Linked DNA regions of Homo sapiens: region 2 is linked to region 1. Evidence: promoter capture Hi-C in 16 types of primary human blood cells and fetal thymus (Javierre and others, 2016). All regions are on one chromosome and are shown on one strand. Each heading gives the region's core, a stretch centred on a gene start or on the middle of the fragment in contact. The rest is flanking DNA. Distances are from core to core; before and after follow the strand shown.

Region 1 (6,176 bases), core at 2,338-4,837:
ACTTCTTTAATTGTTTTTTAACTATTTGCATGCTTTCCTGTGTCAAATGCTGCTTTGAAGTTCAGTAGAATTAGTGTGGTAATAAAACAAAGGAAGTTTCTGGGAAGTATTGGAAAATAAAACTCTAACTGGAGTCAAGAGAAAATTGGAGCAGATGTTTGTGGAGACAACAAGTATAGACAACTCTTTCAAGTTTGCTATAAAATAAAGCAAAAAAAAAAATGGAATTGAAGTTGGAAGAGCATGAGAGGTCAAGACAGAAGATGTTCCCTGGGTGAAAATACAGAGAAAAGGAAAAAATGATGATCTAAGAAAGGGAGAGGGTATTTGAAAAACAGTAAATCTATGAGAGAAGTGAAAAGAGAGGCTTTAGTCTACATAGGTGAAAAAGTTGGCGTTAGTGGCAGGGACAGTATATTTCTTTTCAATATGAAGGAAGGAAAAAGACATGGGTACAGATGTAGGAAGGGTGGTAGATTTGGTGATGGGAAAATACAGATTTGTTTAGTGGCTTATATTTTCTCAGTGATATTAGAAGCGAGAAAAGTGAGTATGGGGAAGGAGATCTGGACACTTGATAAGGGAGAATCTATAAAATGATTGCTGCCAAATGGCAACTTTGTCTTTCTATGTGTCTTTATTTTGCAAATCATTCTTTTTTTCTTTTTTTTTTCTTTTTTGAGACAGAATCTGACTCTGTCACCCAGGTTGGAGTGCAGGGATGTGATGGTGGTTCACTGCAACCTCTGCCTTCTGGGCTCAAGTTATCCTCCACCTTAGCCTCCTGAGTGGCTGGGACTACAGGTCACCACACCTGGCTAGTTTTTTCATTTTTTATTTAATTTTTAAATTTTCTGTAGAGATTGAGTTTTGCTGTGTTGCCCAGGTTGATCTCAAACTCCTGAGCTCAAGCAGTCTGCCCCCCTCAGCCTCCCAAAGTGATGGGATTACAGGCATGAGCCACTGTGCCGGGCTCTAAATCATACTTGACTACGTTATATTGATACTTGACTACATTATATTGTAAACTTTTAGAGGGCAGAAGTTATGCTCACCTTATTTATTCTGTATGTTTAAAAAAAGGGCGCGGTGGCTCACGCCTGTAATCCCAGCACTTTGGGAGGCCGAGGCGGGTGGATCACGCGAGGTCAGGAGATCGAGACCACGGTGAAACCCCGTCTCTACTAAAAATACGAAAAGTTAGCCCGGCGTAGTGGCGGGCGCCTGTAGTCCCAGCTACTCGGGAGGTTGAGGCAGGAGAATGGCGTGAACCCGGGAGGCGGAGCTTGCAGTGAGCCTCGCGAGATTGCGCCATTGCACTCCAGCCTGGGCGACAGAGAGAGACTCCGTCTCAAAAAAAAAAAAAAAAAAGCATTACCTACTGAAGATGTAAAGAGCTGTTACTATGATGCTGGACAGTGGGATATTAAGTTTTGCCTAACAGAAGTCTTAGGGGAGGGTACAAAATTATGTGAACTTCCCAGTTGATTATGAAACAACTTTGCTACATTTTTGGCATAAAGAGATAGAAGTAACAGTAATATATAGCATCCACAAAAAAACTCAACAAGCATCTACTTATCAGGTTTTATCTTTTAATCCCCTATGGACTCTGTGATGCTACAGTTATTACTTATATATTTAAATCACAGACTGGACACCTGGTTTTTCCAGTCACATAATTAAGTTTACATCTCAGTATTACCATTTAGCCTACTTTCCATTTTTTATCTGAAAATTAATCTTATTAAGATTAAAAACTCAAATATACCTATTTCGTTTTTTATAACTTAATTCAACTTTTTTTCTGACCGATTAAAGGGAATGCCTACCAATGTCAGTTTTCCGATTATTCTCCCTGGACTTGGAAGTGGCTAGGCTATATTACTAACAGTATTATACAACCTAATTAGAGAACAATAAAGTTGACCTTTGAAAATAACATATCAAACATCAGAAAGTGTCTTTTCTTCATCTGCTTTAAGGATTACATTTGTTTCTTTTGTGTAAATAATACATTATTACAATTTGAGATTATTTACTTAATCTTTAATACAATGAGAGCTAAAAATAAATCAATAAACATTTGAAAATATTTTCTACAATTCTATTTCATCTCATTTACTAGTAACATTTAAGTTCAGCCTCACTTTTGAACACTCATTTCCTAAACCTCAATTGTCTGTAATAATTTTATGTTTTCTTGTGCAGTAGTTTTCCTTCCGCTGGGTCATCTATTAACACTTCTCCAACAAACCAGAGTCTTCTTATGAAGGACTGTTGTGAATACTGGCATTCGTAAATTTCTAAAAATAAAATTTCCCAGGTGCACAGTTTTCCTCCCTGTCAGCATAATCTTGGGCTAAAGTTGTTGTTTAACAAGGCAATGGGCATTTATGACATTTCTACCCATTACAGCATTTAACAAATGTTATTGTAATTGCTAATTCACCTGTCTGTATTCCACTTTAGACAATAAACTCTGTGAGATTAGAGACCGTGTCCATCTAGTTCATCTTTGTATCCTCAATCTAATATATAATAAAAGGTCAATAAAATATATGCTGAATCAATGAAAGTCCCAGCAATGTGGGGAATGGTAATGAAGAACTCCAGAGCAATGCACTTACCTGTGAGATCCAGGGTTCTGTCCACAAAAACCACTGATGCCCTGCCTGCAGCAGTCTTCTTCCTGTTCTTTGCAGGGGCATAATTGGCCAGATCCGCAGCGATGACCTGACTTAAGGAACCTACAGCAAAACACTCCTCCCGTACTCCTAAATGTTCACACAGAGAACTGAGGCCTGACACTAGGCATCTGATCTGCAGCAGCAGCTCTGGGGTTAGCGTAGTGGAGTCCACATCACCCAGGCTTCCCAGCTTCCTCTTGTCCGGTCGGGCGCTATTAAGGAGGTGCACATCCTGGGGTAGCAGTGGGAAAAGGGATGCAAAAGCTGGAGTCAAGGCAAAGTGGGGAGCAACAGGGGCAAGCAATAACGGGACATGGAACACCTCGGCCGTGTAGTTCATGTTGCCCATCCATTCACACAGCTTCTCCTCCAGCTGCTCGAACACCGGCTGCTGCCCCTCCATCTCGGCCGCTGCCGCCGCTGGGACATGATTAGCTGTGAGGTGGACAGCGTGGCTCACGGTTGTGACCACCACACAATACTGGAAGTGACTGCGGCAGATGATGTCCCGTAGGATCTCCACGGTCCGGCCTTTCAGCAGGCAGCTCAGCACAAACACTGCCTTGGGCTGCTTGGCTCCACCACCAATTGCGTCGGGCTCGAACTCTCGCAGGTGACAGTCAGGACCCCCCACCGCCTCCAGGAGACGGGTGGATCCGCAGCCCCAGTGCAGGCTCTCGGCGCAGGCGGCGTCCAGGTAAACCACAGCCCGTTTCACTTTGGCCAGCACCTGCTCCCATCCTTGCTGGGTAAAGGACAGTACGCCCGAGGCGCTCATGGTTGGGGATTCGCAGACTTGGGAAACTACGGTGCAGGAACTTCTTTCAGAACTCACCGCTTCCGGAAATTGGGCTCCGGGAGACTTTGACAGTCTCCACAGTACACGTGGTCGGCCTCTGACACGCTCCCTGATGGCGCTCGGTGATGACGTTAAACTGAGCGGTGATTGGCTAGAGAGGAGGCCGGGAGTGAGGAAGGATGGCGCGGTCGGGAAAGAAGTGGGTGGGGCTCTGTGGCTCCGGGCTTCCTCAAAAGCTCGTGGAGATCAGGTGTTTCCTGAGATGGAGCTGAACTGAGTTCTTTCCGTCGCTCGGCCTGTCTGCGCAGATAATCTTCTCAGATAATCTTCTCATGTTCCTTGAAAAGTCTCCGAAATAAAAACCTAATCCGAAATTTGGTATCTTCCTTAGATATGAACACGTCTCCAAAAGTACAGCCACCTTCTCAATCTAAACTCAGAGCAACTAGAAAAAGATAATAAAAACAACCGTGTGCAATATTTTGGGTTTATAGATTGCTGTCACATACGTTATCGCCCACAAGCCTCATAACAAACCCTGTTGTTCTCATTTTCACTTTCTCCATCTTTCCTCCCTCATCTCATCGTCACTACATCTTATAGGCTTAAAAACTCTCAGAATTCAGCCCTTCCTCTCCATTTTTGCTGTCACAAAAACCCAACATCATCGCTCACCCAGGCAATGATCTCCCAACATTTTCTGACTTTTGATCTCTTTACCCTCCAATTCTATTTTCTTCCTAATAAACAAAGTTGGTCCTACAACTTTCCTGCTTAAAAGCTTCTCCTAGCCCAGTTGCCTATAGGATACATCCACACTCTTTAAAAAGCATCAACATCCTTCTTGATTTCTCAATTTCTCTCCAGCTATTCCCAACATGGAGAAAAATTGTACCGATACAATGAAGTCAATAGGCTGAACCCAAAATGTTTTATGGGTTCTGTTTGTTCCACCAATATACTTACATTACTAAGTATAATCTCTGTGCTAAGCTTCAAAGATGCAATGGTTAATAAAATTCATTACCTAATCCACAAAGAATTTACCTGGTAAACTTACCGAAAATAATCATTCCAACAGTACTGCCTGTGAGAGACTTTTTCTAACTCACCACCACTATCACCCTATCACCTCTCACTTCCCCCACCTATCAAACCACTCAATTGATACATTCGCTAAGTACTTGCCATATCATGGGGTAAGTATTAACACTATTTTCTTTAAACTATCTGTTTTGCTAAATTATGCACTAGATGCTTGGTATCCCCAACACTTATAACAGGTGTTCAATAAATGTTCGTTGAATGAATGTTCAATTAATATCCATGGCCAGGCGCGGTGGCTCATGCCTGTAATCCCAACACTTTGGGAGGCCGAGGTGGGCAGATCACCTGAGGTCAGGGGCTCAAGACCAGCTTGGCCAACATGGTGAAGCTCCGTCTCTACTAAAAGTACAAAAAATAGCTGGACATGGTGGCAGGTACCTGTAATCCCAGCTACTCGGGAGGTTGAGGCAGGAGAATCACTTGAACCCAGGAGGGAGAGGTTGCAGTGAGCCAAGATGGCACCACTGCACTCCAGCCTGGGCGACAGAGCGAGACTCTGTCTCAAAAAAAAAAAAAATTCCACATAATAATATATCCAGCCAATTTTTAATAAATACGTACAGTATTCCAAACACTGTCTGGGTTTTAAGGATATAAAGAAAACTAAACCACAGCCCTGATTTCAAAATAATTATGATGAAATAAAGGGACCCACACATGTAAAACAAGTGCAATAAAATGTTACAGAAGCAAATACTTTTTAAAATTTTTTGTATAGGAGTCAAGAAGGAGGAAAAATAAATTCTAAGAGAAAAAGGAAGAAGTCAGAAAAAGCTTCATATAGGGCATGAGTTTTGACTTGCCTTCAAAGAAACCCAGGTGTTCACCAGGTGGACAGGATGGGGAGGAGGATTCTTAGCAGTCCAGGCACAGAGTGCAGCATAAACAAAGTCGTAGAGGCATAAAACAGTACAATATGTTCTCTGGAACTACAAAGGGTTTCCTATAGCTGGAGTGCATTGTATGAAAAAAGGCGCAAGAAGAAATAAGAGCAAGGAATTAGAAAAGAAAGAAATGGGCTAGATCAGCAAGAGCCTTATTTTCCATTCTAAGTAGTAGCAGCCAGTGGGGAAGTATTAATGTATTTTGGGGTATGGAAATAATTTGTTCACATCTGGATTTTAGAAAAAAAATGGTTCTAGTCAAAACATGGAAAATAATTTGAAATGGAGCAATTTAGCGCAGAGGGAGCAGTTAAGAAAATAATAGTATCAGCAGCAAATCTGGGTGAGAGAGTTGAAAAGCGTAACAAGCAGATGGACAGAGTGGGGAGTATGAATAGACGTTAAGAATATAGTGCCAAAGGGCTTGCTTATTAGTTTGACAGAGAGGGTGACACGGAAGGAGAATTTCAGGTTAGCACCCAGCTTTCTGTCTGGATGACTGATGAATGCCAGTCATTGAGATTTGAAAAACCATTAAGAGAAGCAGATTGCGGAATAAATACAGAGTTTAGTGGGGACATATTTTTGTTTGTTTGTTTCCTTATGGCAAGATAAGTGTAACATAAAAGTCACACCATCTTAACCATTGTAAAATGTACATTTTGGTGGCATTAAGTACATTCACATTGTTGTATA
Region 2 (6,176 bases), core at 1,746-4,245, 2.0 Mb after region 1:
ACAGAGCGAGACTCCACCTCAAAAATAAATAAATAAATTAATTAAATAAAATACAATGTAATGCACATGTAGTAGGGTTTCTTTCCATAGGATGCCTGACAGTGGTTACATTTTAGTAAGACTATATCGGTGTAGGCTATGATTAAAAAATATATCATCTTGGAATTGTTGCGCCACCCACATCCTTATTGGGTAGGGGGTTAAATAAGTAGCTTCAGTTGTCCTTCAAGAAAGGTATCAGGAAAGCTCCTATAGTTTTTTAATTGCTTTTTTTAAGGGAGTTAGTCACCAATGAGGACTAGAAGGATGATGGCTCTAAACCCTCAAGGTGGTGAAAACTGGAGCCAGCCTCGATTTAGCACGCCTGAGCACGGATCCCAGGAGGTAGATGTGTGTGGAAACAGAAATACCAGATCCCATGAGAATCAGACACCTAGAGCCTAGCCTGGCAGCACCTGAAGGCCCTTGGATCAGGGTGACACTGGGGCAGGCTAGAAAGGTCTCACTCTGGCCCAGATTCTGATGCTTTGCTGACACCACTGTGCCAGTTCGCCAATGCTCTATCTCCATTTATGTTACATCTTCTGCCAAATAGCTTTGCTGCCTTGCCCCTGAACCACTGCATGCTCAGCAGCTGGTGCTTCAGCATCCTGCAGCTGTAGCCCAGAAGTCCTCACTGCCTCATATGTTGAGATGACTGAATTTGGCCAGGAGTCCTTCCTGTGAGAAAGCCCTGGAGTGTGGGCAGCCCATCCTAGAAAATAAACAAAGCAGCTTTCAGCAATGAGGGACACACAGCCAGTTTTGCTACATTCACCCTTCTGGCTCTGTCTTCAGCCTAAGCTGCTCCTTTCAGGTCCCTCCCTTGGGACCTCAAGCCTCCCTTTCAGGCCCCTTTTAAGCACAGCAAATCCTGTATGCATTAAGGGGAGGTAGTTGAAGTTTGGGCTTCTGGGTTTTATGTTATTACTGGCTTCTGAAAGCTCAAACATTTGCACTCCAGGGATGATAGTTGCATCTGTTAAATTTAGTGTAAAGCTGCCTCCTTACATATTTTAAGTTAGGCCTAAAGGTTTCCCCATACATGGTGAACTGTAGCCTAATTGGGTATGTAAACAGACTGTAACCTATTCTTGTACCAATCACAGAGTTCTGGCCAATCACAAGTGGCCAACTGTTCAAACCGTGTTCAAATAGGGCAAACCTGAGCTACAACCAATCCAGCTGTTTCTGTCCCTCAATTATGTTTTCTGTAAGTCACTTTATTTTTTCCGACCACTCGGCAAGACTGGAGCCTCTCTGAACTTACTTTGATTTGGGGTCTTTTTGATTTGCAGATCATTCTTTGGGTTCTTTGCTTGATTAAACGCTGTTAAGTTTAATTTGTCTAAGGTTTTTCTTTTAACACACCCCAAACTGTAAGTGGAGGCATCCTACTTACACAGTAATAGAAGAATGCATAAAGCAATAACATGAAGGAACAAGTGACAAATTCTGTAACGCCATGTGTTGGGGAAAAGTTCTGAGAGTGGAAGCTTGAATAGGTTTTGGAAGTATGAGTAGGAGTTTACAAGGAGAGAATGGAAGAAGGGGAATTACGGACAGAATAACATGGACGGAGGCCGGCCGCGGTGGCTCACACCTGTAATCCCAGCACTTTGAGAGGACGAGGCCGGCAGATCACCTGAGGTCTGGAGTTCGAGACCAGCCTGACCAACATGGAGAAACCCCATCTCTACTAAAATTACAAAGTTAGCCGCGTATGGTGGAGCATGCCTGTAATCCCAGCTACTCGGGAAGCTGAGGCAGGAGAATCTCTTGTACCCGGGAGGAGGAGGTTGCAGTGGGCCGAGATCTCACCATTGCACTCCATCCTGAGCAACAAGCGCGAAACTCCGTCTCAAAAACAAAAACAAAGAAAACAACAAAACAAAAAAACAGACGGAAATTTTATTATCCTGTGACAAACACTGTATCTTTGGTGAACTCAAAGTAGGTTTGCCCACTTTCCCACAGATTGTTTTGGTGGATTAATTTTTTGTTTCAGTTAGTGATAAACTTCCTTAGCTCTTTACTGAGTACAGGTTTACTGTATGTAAATATGTATAATATTAGATTAGTGCCTGGCACATGGTTAGCACTATCGATTTTTATTAGGGACTAGGTCTCAAACTTATGGTAATTAAGTAGCTCACTTTTTCTTTTGGGAAGACGTAAAAATATTCTCAAGCCTAACTCAAGACCATCCTTTCCTGTCTTCTAGTCTTGCCCACTCAAAGCTCCATCCTGCAAAAGTCTTAAACAGTCCATTTCAAAAGCCCAGCATTTTTAAAGGGTCTAAGGAATAGCACAAAACAAGATGCACCCAAAACGTCAAGGCCATACTGGACAAGGGCAACGTTAGCCATTTTTGGTCTGGGGTAATTATAGGCAGTATCTTAAAACAAGGCTTGAAAAATGTCATGTTATTTCCAAATCCCATTTCAGAACTTTAAAAAAAAAATAGCATTTTGAGCTCCTAAGAACGTTTTTGGCGGTAGGTGGCCACATGGAGGGTGGCACAGAGGCTCGGCGGGGGAGAGCGGAACAGAGCTGGGCGTGGCAGTGCCTGCGAGTCAGCGCCACGTAACCAGAGGCGCTCGCACTAATTTGACCTCTAAGAGAGACTAAGCGCAGGGAACAGCGGGTGCGGACATTACGGCGGAAGGCTCTGGAGGAAGCAGAAGTGAAGGACCTCGCAGTCCTGGGACGGTGGGGCACAGAGAGAGAAAGGGAGCCCCGGGCGCGGCGCGGTGAGGATGCGAGCAGAGGAAGGACACGCGGCGCCGGGTACCTGCCGGGAGCGCCGGATCCAATGGGAGGAGGGCCCGCGCCGCACCTCAACCTGGCAGAGGACGTCACGACGCCAAGGCGGTCGCCGGGCCAATGGGAGGCCGTCGCGGGCAGGGACGGGGCCGGGAGGAGTCGGGGCTGGGCCGCGCCGAGGCAGCTGGCTGACTCCAGTTTAGCCGCCGCCGGAGAGGACGGGCGCCGAGCCGGGGCTGCGGACTTCGGCCTGCCCCTCACCTCACTCCCGCTGCTTGCACCTCCCGGATGGTGCTGACTGCTCCCTAAGCGGCGGCGGCGGCGAGTCGTGAGGACGCGCCGCGGAGGCTGTTCGGGGTCGAGGCTTCCCGTCGCCGGCACTTCCTCTTGCGGCGCCCGTGCGCGGCCGGCCCGGCAGGCGGGATGGCGGCCGCGGCTCCAGGGAACGGCCGCGCATCGGCGCCCCGGCTGCTTCTGCTCTTTCTGGTTCCGCTGCTGTGGGCCCCGGCTGCGGTCCGGGCCGGCCCAGATGAAGACCTTAGCCACCGGAACAAAGAACCGCCGGCGCCGGCCCAGCAGCTGCAGCCGCAGCCTGTGGCTGTGCAGGGCCCCGAGCCGGCCCGGGTCGAGGTGAGCGGGCCGGGATGGGGCGAGCGAGGCTGCAGGGCCGGCTGCGCCGAGTACCAGGCTCCAGGCCTTTGAAAGCGCCGCACTCCGCCGGCCTCGGCTGGGGGAGGGGAGCCCGGCCCCTGCTCCCGGGGTGGAGGGCGGTCGGCTGCGCTGTTTTCCGGTGAGGCCTGGTCTTGCCCGCTCCTTTAGGGAAAGGGAGAGGGAGAGTCCAAGAGGAGCCCGCTATAAACGTTGATCTCCGGAGGGCCAAGATGCTGCTCCGGGATGGGCGTTTTATTGATCAGATGTGTCTTAGAGTAGCTAGAAAGACTCATCCCTACCAAAAAGTTTTTAACAGAAGGCTGCTAGGAGGCTTTTTGTATTCCCTGAGGATCATCACATCGGCCATTTCATTGTTGAAATAGCTTATGCCAAACTGCTTACCCAAATTCAACTTGGCACTGCCTGTGCTTTTTGCCAAATATGGATTATGAACCATGACTCTCACTTTTTAAAAATGTGCTTTGGCTAGCAGGAAGTAGCCTTTAGGAACGCAGAGGAATTAGTCTCCGGCAGTACAGCGTGCTGCAGCGATGTGGGATGCCAAAACTACATTTATAAGTAAAACAGAATCCTGTATTTTGTCCTTCCCTGAATAGATACTAGAAATCAACTTTTTAATCTGTTAATAGAATTAGTCCTTAGTCACTTGGCAGCGTTTTAACATTTCTCCCTTCTCCCAGTCGTGGGCTTTGTCGTCATTTCCAGTATCTGCTCCCTGAATCCCGGCCAGTGTGGCACTCAAACCCCCACTCCCACCCAGGCCACATCCAGCCCATCTCCACGTAACTAATCTTCCCGAACATTGAATTCTGCCATCTTGTCAGAAGTCGTCGGTGAGTTGCCTCCACTAATTTCAGTCCAGCCTTTTTAGGAGAGTGATGTTCAGGTTTCTTCTGATCTGGCTCCAGCTCACCTCCAGGCTTTTTAGCCACCGCTTTCTTGCTCATATGCTAAAGGGATATGCTCATCTGCAAAAAAGAATGTGCTTCAAGAGCCCTTTGGGACAGGCTTTGTGCTCTCTTGCCAGTTCCTCCCTAACACAAGACCTTTTCAAAGAAAAAAAAAAAAAGACCTGGAGTTTGAAGCCACGGATCAACTCTTCCCACCTTGGAGAACCAGCAGATACCTACTCTCTGTGAAGACTTCCCTAAAATTTCTTGGTTAAGGGTGATTTATCTGACCCTTTCCTTTCCTTTCCTTTCCTCTCCTTTCTCCTTTTTCCTTTCCTCTCCTTTCTCCTTTTTCCTTTCCATTCCTTTCATTTCTCCTTTCCTTTCCTTTTTCCTTTCCTTTCTCCCTTCCTTTCCTTTTTCCTTTTTCTTTGTTGAGACAGGGTCTCGCTCTGTCGCCCAGGCTGGAGTGCAGTGGCCCCGTCTTGGCTCACTGCAACCTCTAATTGATCCTCCCACCTCAGCCTCCTGAGTGGCTGGGACTGCATGCGTGTGCTGACACGCCCGGCTAATTTTTGTTTATTTTTTTTTTTTTTGAGAGAGGAGGTCTCACTATGTTGCCGAGTCTAGTCTCAAACTCCTGGGCTCAAGCGCTTCTCCGGCCTTGGCCTCCCAAGTGCTGGTGAGCTCTCACACCGGTGCATTGTTTTCGTGTTTCATGTTTTCGTTACATGTTACTTTCTTAGGCTTTTCCAATTTTCTGTTGTTTTTCTGTGTAAGACCGTAGGATAGAACTTTCTGAGAGACTGATCTTGGTTTCACTAAGCAAGAACATTTGTAAGAATCAGTGCTGTCCCAGATGTAGTAATCGCTATTGAGAAATAATGAAGTTCCCCTTACTGGAAGTACTCAGGAAGAAGTTGAATAACTAACTGCCTATGAGGAGATTCTGATATGGGAGGGAATCTGGGAGATAAAGTTACTGGGAAGTGAAGATTCTGGGAGCCGATTTAATCCTCACAACAGCACGTTAAACAGGTAGAGGAGGTTTGTAAGGAATAGTGGTTTAATATCACAGAGCTAGAAGCTAGTTTCAGCAGAACCAGAATTAGAATCTGGACTTCTGTGCCTTACTAAGTTTTATTAGCATTCATTGTGTCTTACTCTTTTGACTTATTTAATTCACTAATGGATTTTAATGGTTTATTGGATTGTATGCTGGTGCAGTTCTTTGATCTTGAGCCTAGCTTTCTCTTTCTCCTTTTTTGGGAACTTTATTGTGTATGTTGTGGCATGTTTACACACACATCTTGCTGCCTTGGGTTCTTGCAAGTTGTGTGCGTGTTTTATCTGCCCCTACTAGCTTTTAGGTGTCTTGAGAGCATGACTCTGGCTTACTCATCTGTCTATTCCAGAAGACCTTGTCTGTTCTTGGCATTTATTAACTAATTTTCTAAGACTGGGTTGAAGTAGTTGCATGTCAAGTTTATATCAGCTGTTAAATACCTTTCTGGAAAAACTGGCTGTAAAATAAACTCAACCAGGAAAAAAAAAAAAAAACAACAACCCGATTTTTAATAGTGTCTATCCAACCTTTTTTTTTTAAGTTGCAAGGGATCCACCAGATGGAATTAAGAGAACTAAGCTTTTATCATCTGCTGGATATAATGTGATTTTGTAACCATTATTGGATTGGTGTTGGTTTAGACAGTTTATTTTCAGCTGACTATATAGTTAATTCCGGGACTCTTATAAAGTTTTTTTTAAAAAGAGAAAAAGAGAAGATCAAAAGCACTGGAACTCAACGAG

What was found. Contacts are between HindIII fragments. The CHiCAGO score rates a contact against its expected background, and 5 or more counts as called.
Region 2: a contact is called between the fragment with the promoter of TMEM165 here and the fragment with the promoter of SCFD2 in region 1, in 1 of 17 cell types (naive CD8 T cells). The highest score is 7.1, in naive CD8 T cells.

Annotation. Positions count from the first base shown.
Region 1 is chr4:53,362,474-53,368,649 of GRCh38, forward strand. It overlaps SCFD2 (sec1 family domain containing 2), which reads right to left and starts at 3,588. Exons shown (of 9, transcript NM_152540.4): 1 at 2,631-3,588. The coding sequence starts at 3,468. RefSeq lists enhancers at 3,014-3,063, 3,284-3,483, 3,504-3,553. The HindIII fragment of the contact is 6,997 bases long and covers 1-4,268 here.
Region 2 is chr4:55,392,962-55,399,137 of GRCh38, forward strand. TMEM165 (transmembrane protein 165) reads left to right here and starts at 2,996. Exons shown (of 6, transcript NM_018475.5): 1 at 2,996-3,435. The coding sequence starts at 3,229. RefSeq lists silencers at 2,802-3,001, 3,202-3,671 and an enhancer at 5,172-5,221. The HindIII fragment of the contact is 4,477 bases long and covers 1,534-6,010 here.